2 separate regions of the Homo sapiens genome follow, and region 2 is linked to region 1. The links are contacts of gene promoters, found by promoter capture Hi-C in blood cells and fetal thymus (Javierre and others, 2016). All regions are on one chromosome and are shown on one strand. The core of a region is centred on a gene start or on the middle of the fragment in contact, and the rest is flanking DNA. Distances in the headings are between cores, read along the strand shown.

Region 1 (6,045 bases), core at 450-2,949:
AAGCAGAGCAGAGGGCCAGGGATGGAGTGGATTACATAGGTTGGTTAGTCGCGATAGCTGAAAGATTCCTCTGTACCAAAATCTTCACAAATAAGTGAGATATTTATCTTTATATTAGACGTAGAATGTATTCAAGAAAGAATGAATGAAATTGCCATTACAGAATACCAGATGACGACAGTGAAGAGAATTCTAGAGCTAGAAAGGCCCTGAGATGCTATTTATTTCATACTCCTCATTTAAATCTCAAACAATCCAGGCCCAGCTAGGCTGAGTGGTGTCCCTGAGGTCGCACAGCTGGTCAGTAAGAGATCCAAGATGACAGACCTTCGGAACTGAAGAATGGGGAGGAAACAAGAGAACTCTGTCAAAACAAGGACAGTCCTAAGGGAAGGGCTTGGGTTGCTTAATTCTGGGAAAATGTTTTGATTTTAGCTCATCAAGGAAGAGACCAATCCCACTGCACTGGGTGATGGCAGCAGCTGCCCAGGACTCTCAGGGATCGGCAGGTGTGAACAATCAGATCCTCAAATCCTTTCTGACCTCATGTCTGAAACTGTGCATGCATAAGGGGGCATAAGGGGGAAAGAAAAGGGAAGAAGGTAGGCAGAGAAAGGCAGGAACATGCGGCCAAACGACACCATGAGACAGGCTTGCCTGGCCCTGGGAGTCTGTGCAGAGTTGCAGGACGGCCCTGAGAGCGTGGGCTGCATCTCACAAGGTGTGCGCTCCTGGCCCCGAGCGCCACGGAGGAGGGGTAAAGATGGCCCCTAATGGCTGGGCACGCTGGCTCATGTCTGTAATCCCAGCACGTTGGGAGGCCGAGGCAGGCAGATCACTTGAGGTCAGGAGTTCGAGACCAGCCTGGCCAACACGGTGAAACCCCGTCTCTATTAAAAATACAAAAATTAGCTGGGAGTGGTGGAAGGCACCTATAATCCCAGTTACTCAGGAGGCCGAGGCAGGAGAATTGCTTGAATCTGGGAAGCAGAGATTGCAGTGAGTGGAGATTGCGTCACTGCACTCCAGCCTGGGTGACAGAGTGAGACCCTGTCCCCCCCCCCAAAAAAAAAAAGTGGCCCCTGAGCCATAAGCACACAGGAAATGTGAGCAGGGGACTTGGCCACAGCCACATAGTGGCAGCAGAAAGTTAACACCTGGACGCAGAGAAACATAAAGGCCAAAACCTAGAACTGGAATGAGCTGGAACAGGCCTACACCGCGGGAGCTACATTTATGACTTTTGAGAGATTTACAACTTTCACAAAGCAGGGAGAGAAAAGTAGGGACCCTGATGGATGGAAAAAATCCATTTCAACCTGTCATTACATATACTTTCATTTTGAAGACTTCAAGAGATGAGGGAAAATTGACTTATTTTTCCCAGTTAGGGTATTGAGGGAAGCTGACCAGCACAGACTAAACCCAAAAAATGAAATGCATCTTCTGTTGGTGTTCTCAGTTCTACCGCAAAGAGGGTTGAAAGTAATTTTGCTGGTGGCAGGGACTGGGGACGGAGAAATGAGGGAAAAGGAAGCTCCCCCACACCAGTATGTTAGATGGTTGGGGCTCCTTTCAGATTTACGGCAAGCTGGAAAATCCATTCTATGTCTGGCTCATGTCACATTCATATTTCATGTCTATTAGAAGAATCTCATGCCACATCAATTGTTTGTGATCTACATTACATATAATAGGCTCTCTGCTTATCTTTGACACAGGTGAGGGGCTGATGTAGAAACTGTTAAAAGACTATACAATGACTTGTATATTCAATAATGGCTCAAACTTCAAAGGTCTATCATTTTGCCCTGCTCTTCATTTCTTTCCTCATAATGCTTCTCAAAGCAATCTTGTCTTTCCAGCCTCACAATCAAGGACAAATTCCTGAATGCAACATTTGCTTTTCCGTCTTCCCGCTTCACCTCACTCATCCCTGCAGAAGTACAAGTATTCCTGGCTTCTTCAAGTCTACGCCTAAGAATTAAGAGCCTTGGGGAGAAGGGCACTGCATCGACCACTGCATCTCAATCATTGTGGCAGACGTACCACAGCACTGGGAAGCTGGCCTTGGCAAGAATCTCAGGCTATTACTACAGAGTTGGGAAGAAGGTTTAGGATCAAGATAGAGGTGACTGACCAAGGTGAGTGCATGAGCAGAGAGGTGCCTTCAACTTCCACTGCAGACAGTTCTGATATCTTGCCTCTACCTGAGGTGAGTTCTAGCCCTGGGCAAGTCAGTCCAATGAATGTCATTGAGAACCAGCTGCAAACTACTACTGCCCTACTGACCTAAGCACAGAGGTTATAGGGAAGTCTAACTTGCAAAGCCTTCTCTCAATGTCATACACCATTTTTGAAGATCAAGACATCTTAATACTTTGACCACTTGCTTCCAGGCTAGTTTTTTTGTATTCCACTCTGCCAGCCTGAGTTTCTAGCTCACTGAACTCTTGTCTCCTGGCCTGGTATCCTAACTCTGGTGTCTGTTATTTCTTAGTCCAGATCTGTGTTACCTCTGGATTTTCTTACGTTGATGGATTTACCCCCAGACTCCAACTCTTGCCTCTCAGACATGTTATTTCTATGGAGGCCTTTGTTTTCTGTTTCCTTTGACTTGAACTATTCCAGGTCTCTCTCTTAGACATATTTTCAGAATCTAACCACTTTCTCACCACCTCCATTGGCACCATTACCTCTTGCCACATTTCTTGCTGTGGACTTCATAAGTCAGTTCATGTCACTCATCTGCCCCCAAACCCCACATTGGATTTCATTTTACTCAGCAAGAAGACCAAAGCCCTTTTATTGTCCACTCTGACCCCATGGCTTCTTACCCTCTACCTTGGTCATTCTGCTCCAGCCAGACAAGCTTTGCCTCTCTTCCAACTGGTCTCTCACACTCCCACCTCAGGACCTTTGCACCTGCTGTTGCCTCTGCTGTGAATACACTCTCTCCAGATGTCTGCCTGGGTCTTTGCTCAAATGTCAGCTTTACAGTCACATCCCCCTAGACCATTCTATTTACAGTTGTAACTCTCCTTACCCCAGCATTCTCTATGCTCCACGTAGCTTTATTTTTCTCTACAGCACTTAGCACCATCCAATATACTACATCTACTTTACTTATCTGTTTGTTGGACTGTCTTCCTCAAACTATTATAGAATATAAGCTCTATCAAGGCAAAGCTTTCTGTCTGTTTTGTTCACTGCTGTCTCCCAATGACTAAAATAGTTCCTGGCACAGGATATGCATTCCATAATCATTTTTTTTTTTTGAATGAAATAGTGAATGACCTCTCTATCCCCAGCTCAGGTATCTTTCTGGCATCCAAACAAAAATATTCAAATGCCAATCGGACAGCCCCAGGTTGATGTAAAAACTCAACATGTCCAAAATGGAACTTATTACCTTCTTGACCACAGCCCAGACCCACTGTCCCTCCTGTGTCCCAGCCTCAAAATGCCATTGTGCTCCTGCAGGTGGTTTTTAAAATTAAAAAACATAAACAAAACCTGCCATCTCCATTCACTCAACTGTACACGCAGAAACTGGAATCATCTTTCTTTGACAACCTCTTTTCTTCCCCCTAACATCTAATCAAGCACCAAGCTTTGTTGAATGTATCCCTAAATATCTGTGAACATGTTGAGTGTTGACTTTTCCCCTTTCCAACCTACATTTTTCTTTCTTTCTTTCTGTTTTTTTTTTTTTTTTTTTTTTTTTTGAGATGGAGTTTCGCTCTGTCGCCCAGGCTGGAGCACAGTGGTGCGATCTCGGCTCACTGCAAGCTCCGCCTCCCGGGTTCACGCCATTCTCCTGCCTCAGCCTCCCGAGTGGCTGGGACTACAGGCGCCAGCCACGATGCCTGGCTAATTTTTTGTATTTTTAGTAGAGACGGGGTTTCACCTTGTTAGCCAGGATGGTCTCGATCTCCTGACCTCGTAATCCGCCTGCCTTGGCCTCCCAAAGTGCTGGGATTACAGACGTGAGCCACCGTGCCCGGCCTCCAACCTACAACTTAAGTGTCTTAACCAGCCTCCCTGCCTTCTTTCTGGCCATTAGAGGGAGCTCTCTAAAGGCCAAGAATGATCTTGTCATTCTCTGTAAGACAGCTCAAAGTCTCCCCGTCCCCACACAATAAGGCAATGTGAAAGAGTCTTCATGACTTGTTCTTTGAGTAACTCTTTTACTTCCAGAGCTTGTTAGCTGGTATTTGCTCTAACTGAAATGTTCTTTCCATCTTTTTGACTGGTTATCACCTACTAGATCTCAATTAAATGGAACTTCTTTCAAGAAAACCTCTCTGATGCTCTGAGCATCATGCACTTCCCATGTAATAACCCTGACCACTATATTACAACTGAAGTTTGCTTGTGCTTATGAGAATAAAGACCACAACTGATTTACTCACGGTTGTATCATAGGTGCTCAAAAAAATAGTTGTTGAGTAAATAAACAAACAGTATTAAAATTCACACCGAGATGGAATAGATATACTTTTCTTATTCTTCTTGATAAGTACAACAAAATATCCTGCACATTATATATAAAACAAACAGAACAAGACTGAAAGAGGAAAAAGGCAGAACTGCTAGGGAGCTTGGGGATGGGGAGTTCCCTGCGTTTGCCTTCTGCTCCATAGATCTCAGACTTGGAATCGAACAAGTTGCCAACCCAGAAATGCCAATAGGCACAGAAAAAGAAAAGCCACAACCAAAGCCTGCTCTCTCTAGCCCAAGGACCAGGAAAACGGCAGTCTAGCAAGATAGAAAACTTTTAGATAATAACCTCTCTCCTCAGACCAAACACCAGGAAAAAATTGTAGCTCAACTGCCAGCTACATCAGCAAAGGTCTGGTGGTAGCCTAGACTTCCACCCTTGTGAAACTAAGAAGACCTGTCAACACTACCATTGGGATGCCATCAGAGAAGGGTAAGTAAGGAGCTGGGACTTTCATCCCTGCTGGGTGGTAATGAGCTCCTCCTTCCCTCCCTCCCATGGTATCCATGATCAGGAAGGGAGTGTGGACTCCCAGCAGTAATGAGAATGCCCACTCTTGGGTGTCACTGGAGCTTAAGTGGAGTACCTGGACTTCTACGTCCACCTGGTAATAATAAGGCAATGCCTCCCTTTCGCTTGCCAGAGAGGAGTCACAGAAAGCCAATTCAAGCAAAAGGCTTAAATAAGATCCAAATTCTCATAACATAATATGTAAATGACTGCTTCCAATCAGAAACTGTTTGTCATACAAATAAACAGGAAGATTTCAAACAGAATGAAAAAAGACAATCAATAGATGGCAACACTGATATGACAGAGATGTTAGAATTATCTGATGAATATTTTAAAGCAGCCATAATAAGGCTTCAATGAGCAACTATGAACACACTTGAAACACATGAAATTTAGAAAGCATCACGGCAAAAATGGAAAAAATAGAAAGCCCTAGCAAAGAAGTAGAAGAAATAAAGAAGAACTAAATGAAAATTTTAGAACTGAAAAATATGATAACCAAAATAAAAAGCTTAGTGGTTGGGCTCAACAGCAGAATGGAGGAGACAGAGGAAAGAACCAGTGAACTGGAAGACAGAACAATGGAAACTATCTAAAGTGAAGAACAGAGAAAACAAACTAAATCAGGGACCTGCGGAACTATAACAAAAGATCTAATATTTATGTTGCTGGAGTTCAGGCAGAAGAGAAAAAGGGCAGCACTGAAAAAGTATTCAAATAGTTAAATTTTACGGGAGGCCATTGTTTTGGGCTAGTCTCCTGCACCTAGGCCACAGCAGACCAGTCCTAAGCAGAATGGAGTCACTCAGGCTAAGTGCCACCTAATCAAATTGAACTTTGAAAAGAGCCAGTTTTCCAAAAAACAGGTGATTCCGGCCAACCCAAATGAGCATAATAAGGAAGTCCCCTCTGTTTTAGCCCTTTACAGAAAGGGACTTTGAAAGGGCTATCTGCTTTTTGTTCTCTGTATCTGCTCTCTTTAGAGCTTTTCTGCCTATGAAGCCAACTTTCTCTGCTCAGCTCATTAG
Region 2 (5,631 bases), core at 873-3,372, 240 kb after region 1:
ATCAATCTTCTATCCAACTCTGCTGGTTGCCCTACCAACATCCAGTCCAGCTTCCATACACATATGATACTTTATGCTTACCTCAGAGAATCCTGATTTTATTTAGGGATTTACCTTTTCAAAAACTACACACATATATTTAACAATACAGTTTTATACAGAATGCTAAGAGCACTTTTCATATTTTACAGCAGGGCTTGAAACAATATGGACCTTCTATTAATGCTCATTCCATAGCACAACCAAATATAACTCCTACATAGATGCATTACAGTGTGTTTAGAGTTTAAAGGCTCAATGGAAATAAGATGAAAAAGACTATATAAGGAATTTTACATAACTAATTGGAAAATAAATGCAAAAAATAGTAAATAAAATTTAATATGGTCTCATGTGCCCTGAGAGAAGTGGTGCCTGGTTTGGAGGAGTAATTGCTATGTGCAAATAATCTATTTGGAACTGCTGCCACTTTAGGGTTATTCATCATTCACCCCTTTTCTACCAGACATGACACTTCCAGTTTCCTTTACTTGATAGCAATGTCTTTTAAGATCCATAAAACAACTGCAAAATTGAAGTTTGTGCCCTTCTTTCTAGCTTCTGGGTAGACTTCTTTTACTAATCTAGTCAGTTAATTCAAGGTTGCATCCATCTAAGTGTGGATCTGCCACTCACTGGACCACAGGACAGCTTGGACATGTCTTCTCTTGGTTGGTGGGCATCTCCAGATCTTTGTTAATTTCTTCCAGTGCAACGCATGACTCCACTGCCATCTTCTTCTGACAAGCTCTCGAGATTCTTGCCCAGAGCTCCGACCCCCTCAGCAAACTGAGATCTACCACTTTTCACATGACCTTTAGGGAGTGGGCTTTAGGGAATGGGCTCATTACATTCTAATTGGTCCAAATCAGTCATGATAATTCCTCTCTCCCTTTCAGTTATTGGTTTGGGCATGGATTTGTAACACAATTCTGCTCAATGACATTTGCAGGGAAGATTTCTAGACAGCTTTTGGGAAAGCTTTCCTTACTCCCGAAAATATAAATGCAGCAAAGAAGTCCCATTTGTGTCTTTAGACATTATTTGCTTGAATGTGACATATAGAACTTTGCAAATATCCTGGAATCATGGAGGGGAGGGAGCCTGATGACATAACACATGAAGGATGTAAGAGTCAAGTGAATTTCAGAGAAGTGGTGCCAGAACCCTGGTGTGCCATGTCTGGAACAGCCCTACCTCTGTTGTGTAGTAATACATTTCCTCTTTTTTATTTTTTAGAGCCACTTTAAGTTAGAGACTTTTGCTCACAGCTGAAAGCATCCTTATACTCTCTCCAGCCCTAAAAGAGCACCTGGCACACAGTAGATACTCCACAAATGTCTACTGATTTGAGTTGAGCTGTGTTTCAAGTTTATTTCTGTTGGGAAAACAAGATGGATGTCTCCATCTGTTGTATTCCAAGGTTCTAGCACAGTTACTACATCATAGAATGTGTTTGACAAATAATTGCCTAAAGTCAGAATGGCTTCAGTATCTTAACAAGCAAAAGGGAAGAAGCTGCCCCAGGCAGGGTCAGAGAAAGAAACTCGGAAGAGGTCTCTAGCCTCCTCTGGTGGCTCAAAGGGGAAGGCAGTGTGTCACTTAGAAGTGTGTGGTAGGGTAGAGATGAGAAAGGAAGATGAAAATGCCCACAAGAGATACTTTTTTCTGAAAGAGGCAGATTTTGATGTCTGGAAAACATTCTTGTTAAGAAGGAGAGAGATGAACTAAAGGAAACTCTAGGCCATTCAGGGCCGTACCCTGAGTTTGCTTTATAGGCCAATAACTGAATCTCTCTATGTTGTTTGTTCCTATATTATCTGCACATCTAGGATAAGGTAGTTTTTGTCACTCAGAAAATGTCTCGCCTCAGTAAATGTGGCATCTGGTAAGATGCAAGGAAGGGGGATGTTCCTCATGTCTCAGTCCCAGGAAGAAGAGCTACCATTACCTGAATGGTGGCTGAGAAGAGTGGAACCGCATCACACAGCATTGTGGGGTCCCAGGGATTGGTTTGGAGACTCCAAAAAGAAGTACAGCTTCCCAGAAGAAGCACAATTTACCTGCTTTAAATCACTCCATGATTACACAGTGATTTAAAGTGCAAACTCCTTTGCCTGTTCGTGTGTCTCAAATCAATGCCCACCAGAGAGCCAGAGCCTTCACTGCAGAGGAAGTTCTGAATGACACAGGCCAGGATGGTTTGACCCATCTCTGCCCTTGGCCACCCCAGTGCTTGCACAGTAGGTCTGTGAACCCTCAACCAATGAGGGATGAGAAGACATGGATATTCTGGGCTAATTGGCATACCCCACAGACTCATCAAGTTTCTCTACTTCTTTTTTTAAAATTAATTTATTTTTTATTTCAATAGGTTTTTAGGGGGCAGGTGGTGTTTTGTTACATGAATAAGTTCTTTAGTGGTGATTTCTGAGATGTTGGTGCACCCATCACGCGAGCAGTGTGCATTGTACCCAATGTGTAGTCTTTTATCTCTCACCGCCCTTCCACCCTTTTGCCTGAGTCCTTAAAGTCCATTGTATCATTCTTATGCCTTTGCATACTCATAGCTTACCTTCCACTTATGAGTAACAACATATGATGTTTGGTTTTCCATTCCTGAGTTACTTCACTTAGAATAATAGTCTCCATTTACATCTAGGTTGCTGTGAATGACATTATTTCATTCCTTTTTATGGTTGAGTAGTATTCCATGGTGTATATATATATATATATATATATATATATATATATATATATACACACACATACATACCACATTTTCTTTATTCACTCATTGATTGATGGGCATTTGGGCTGGATCCATATTTTGCAATTGCGAATTGTGATGCTCTAAACATGCATACAGCCAATTAATCTTCGACAAAGCAAACAAATACATAAAATTGGGAAAGGACATGCTTTTCAAAAAATGATGCTGGGATAATTGGCAAGCCATATATAGAAGAATAAAACTGGATCTTCATCTCTCACCTTATATAAAAATCAACTCAAGATGGATCAAAGACTTAAATCTAAGACCTGAAACCATACAAATTCTAGAAGATAACATTGGAAAAACCATTCTAGACATTGGCTTAAGCAAAGATTTCATGACCAAGAAACCGAGCACAAATGCAACAAAAACAAAGATAAATAGATGGGACTTAAACTATAAAGCTTCTGCAAAGCAAAAGAAATAATCAGCAGAATTGATAGCCCACGGAGTGGGAGACAATCTTCACAATCTATACATTTGACAAAGGACTAATATCCAGAATCTACAAAGAACTCAAACAAATCAGTAAGAAAAAAATTCCAACAGAAAGTGGGCTAAGGACATGAATAGACAATTTTCCAAAGAAGACATACAAATAACCAACAAGCATATGGATAAATGCTCAACATCACTAATTATCAGGGAAATGCAAATCAAAACCACAATGAAATACCACCTTACTTCTGCAAGAATGGCCATAATCAGAATCAAAATAATAGACGTTGGTCTGGATGTGGTGAAAAGGGAACACTTTTATACCATTGGTGGGAATGTAAACTAGTACAATCACTATGGAAAAAATGTGGAGATTTCTTAAAGAACTAATAGTAGAACTACTATTTGATCCAGCAATCCCACTCCTGGGTATCTACCCAGAGAAAAAGAAGTTTCTCTACTCCTGTGTAAAGTTAATCAAGCTATACCCACCACCTGAGATACCAAATACCACCTTCTCTACTGTAATTCTGCAGCCATTAGGGAAAAGCATCCTGCCCAGCTTCACACTTGTTAGCTCTTAGGGTCAACTGCATATATGGCTCTCATTACTTACCAGTTTCATTATAAATAATTCCATTTCATTTCCTGTAGTACAACAGCTTTTTGAGGGCAAGGACATCACATTTTCTACAATATTAAATCCCACAAACTCTCCAACACAATGCTTTTCATATGAAAGGTGCTAAACACATTTTGAATAATTGTTCACACATTTAATTAATTTTTCACATTTTTTCTTGAACTTTGTTTTCCAAAATAAGGATTATCAAGAGTTTTTCTATATAAGGAACTCATGGCTTTAAATTCTGCAGTGCCTTCTTTGGAGGGGTAATGGCATAACAATATCTGGAGAAACCTGCATATCTATAGTTTTTTTAAAATTTAGTTAAAAAAACAAACAAACATGTGCCCCTTTTCTGACAAGGGTAATCTCTTTGAATTTTTTCTCTCTCCTTTTCGTTCAGTGATTTCTCCTGCTGCTCTAAGCTCTGGAGCAAGTGTTGTGGATCCTCTGTATCCAGATGATTTATAGCTCAACTCTGAATATTCCCGTAGGTCTTCCCCATTCTCACTGCTAGAATTTCTTTTTAACATTCTACTATAGGTCTATTAATGCATTGAGTTCTATTAAATTATTTTCCTGCTCAAGGGAAAATTATCATCTTCATGTTCAGAATTTGTCTTGTATAATCTTCCTGCTCCAAATTAGTGTTCTAACACTCAGCTTTTCTATTTTAATAATAGACATGCTGATTTCCCTACATGATCTAGCTATTAAAAATGCATGTAGTAAGCTCTCAGGAAGTTAGGTTCACTTCTATTTTTAGCATGATCTAAAGGTATTGGTGCTGACCAACTTTTGGGTCACAAATGGCTTTTTGAGAAGCAGCAACACAATGAGTGTTAATGATGGAAACATTCGGTATTAATAGTCTGTCTAATTGGTTTTCCCTTTCTCTACACTTAGACTACAGCTCTTCCCTGATAATAAAGATATTTTTAAAACTATCTCTTCACTCAACTCCCAGTCCCAAGTTTGGTTTCTGGGTACTCTATTAGCCATTTCCTGCATGACAGTGCATCCTATACCAACATTAAATCTCCCATAATGCAATTTGTGCCCACTTTTATATGCATCGGCAGCTCAGAACTGCAGGTTCTTTTATAACTCCTGCTCGGTGCGTCTTCTCCACATACTTTCCAGAGATTCTCTGCAAATCACACTTTTATGACTGACATAAAGTCAAATCAAGCTTATCCTAGGTTATTGTCAATTCCAAGGGAAGGAGAAGGAAGCCCCATTTTGGCATTAGGTCTAAGCTATAGTTTACTAAAAGCTCTGTGTTTGAGGACTGTGGAGCACTTGCCTGCTCTCTCAAAAAACCTAGGAAAGAAGCGTCTACCCTTTTTCCACCTCCTTCTCATTCATCCCACGGGAGGTGGAGTCACATCACTAATGGGTACCCTAAAAGTATGGTGGGTTCCATCTTGTCCCTCTGCCTCACTGCCTCAGATATCACCTTAAGGCTGTGCAACTCCTGCATCCAGAAGAGGTAACTCATCTCCGAAGACTTCCTGAAAATGGAGGCATAGGGAGTCCTTGGAAGAAGAGAAGCTGGTATAGGATTTCCATCAAAGAGATCTCAAAACACATTTCTCCAAACTGTCCCAGAGGGAATGCAGAAGTAGCATAGTGGATAGAAGATATTCCAGATCATCACTTCTCAGAATGCTCAGTGAAGAGATTTCCTTGATAGGTAAGACCAGAAGAGCATAGAGCGCAGTGTTCATGAACTACCAAAAGATGGCTAGAA

The links. The method cuts DNA at HindIII sites, captures the fragments that hold promoters and counts their contacts. A CHiCAGO score of 5 or more calls a contact.
Region 2: a fragment that was not itself captured here is called in contact with the fragment with the promoter of SV2C-AS2 in region 1 in 1 of 17 cell types (M0 macrophages); the score reaches 5.2 in M0 macrophages.

Annotation. Positions count from the first base shown.
Region 1 is chr5:76,307,283-76,313,327 of GRCh38, reverse strand. SV2C-AS2 (SV2C antisense RNA 2) reads left to right here and starts at 1,699. Exons shown (of 4, transcript XR_001742750.2): 1 at 1,699-2,144. The region is part of intron 12 of SV2C (synaptic vesicle glycoprotein 2C); the gene reads right to left. The HindIII fragment of the contact is 6,036 bases long and covers 1-2,874 here.
Region 2 is chr5:76,070,673-76,076,303 of GRCh38, reverse strand. It overlaps a transcript of SV2C not described here and the pseudogene SAP18P1. Among named protein-coding and RNA genes, the nearest start is that of SV2C, 9.9 kb to the left of the region's middle. The HindIII fragment of the contact is 2,199 bases long and covers 1,023-3,221 here.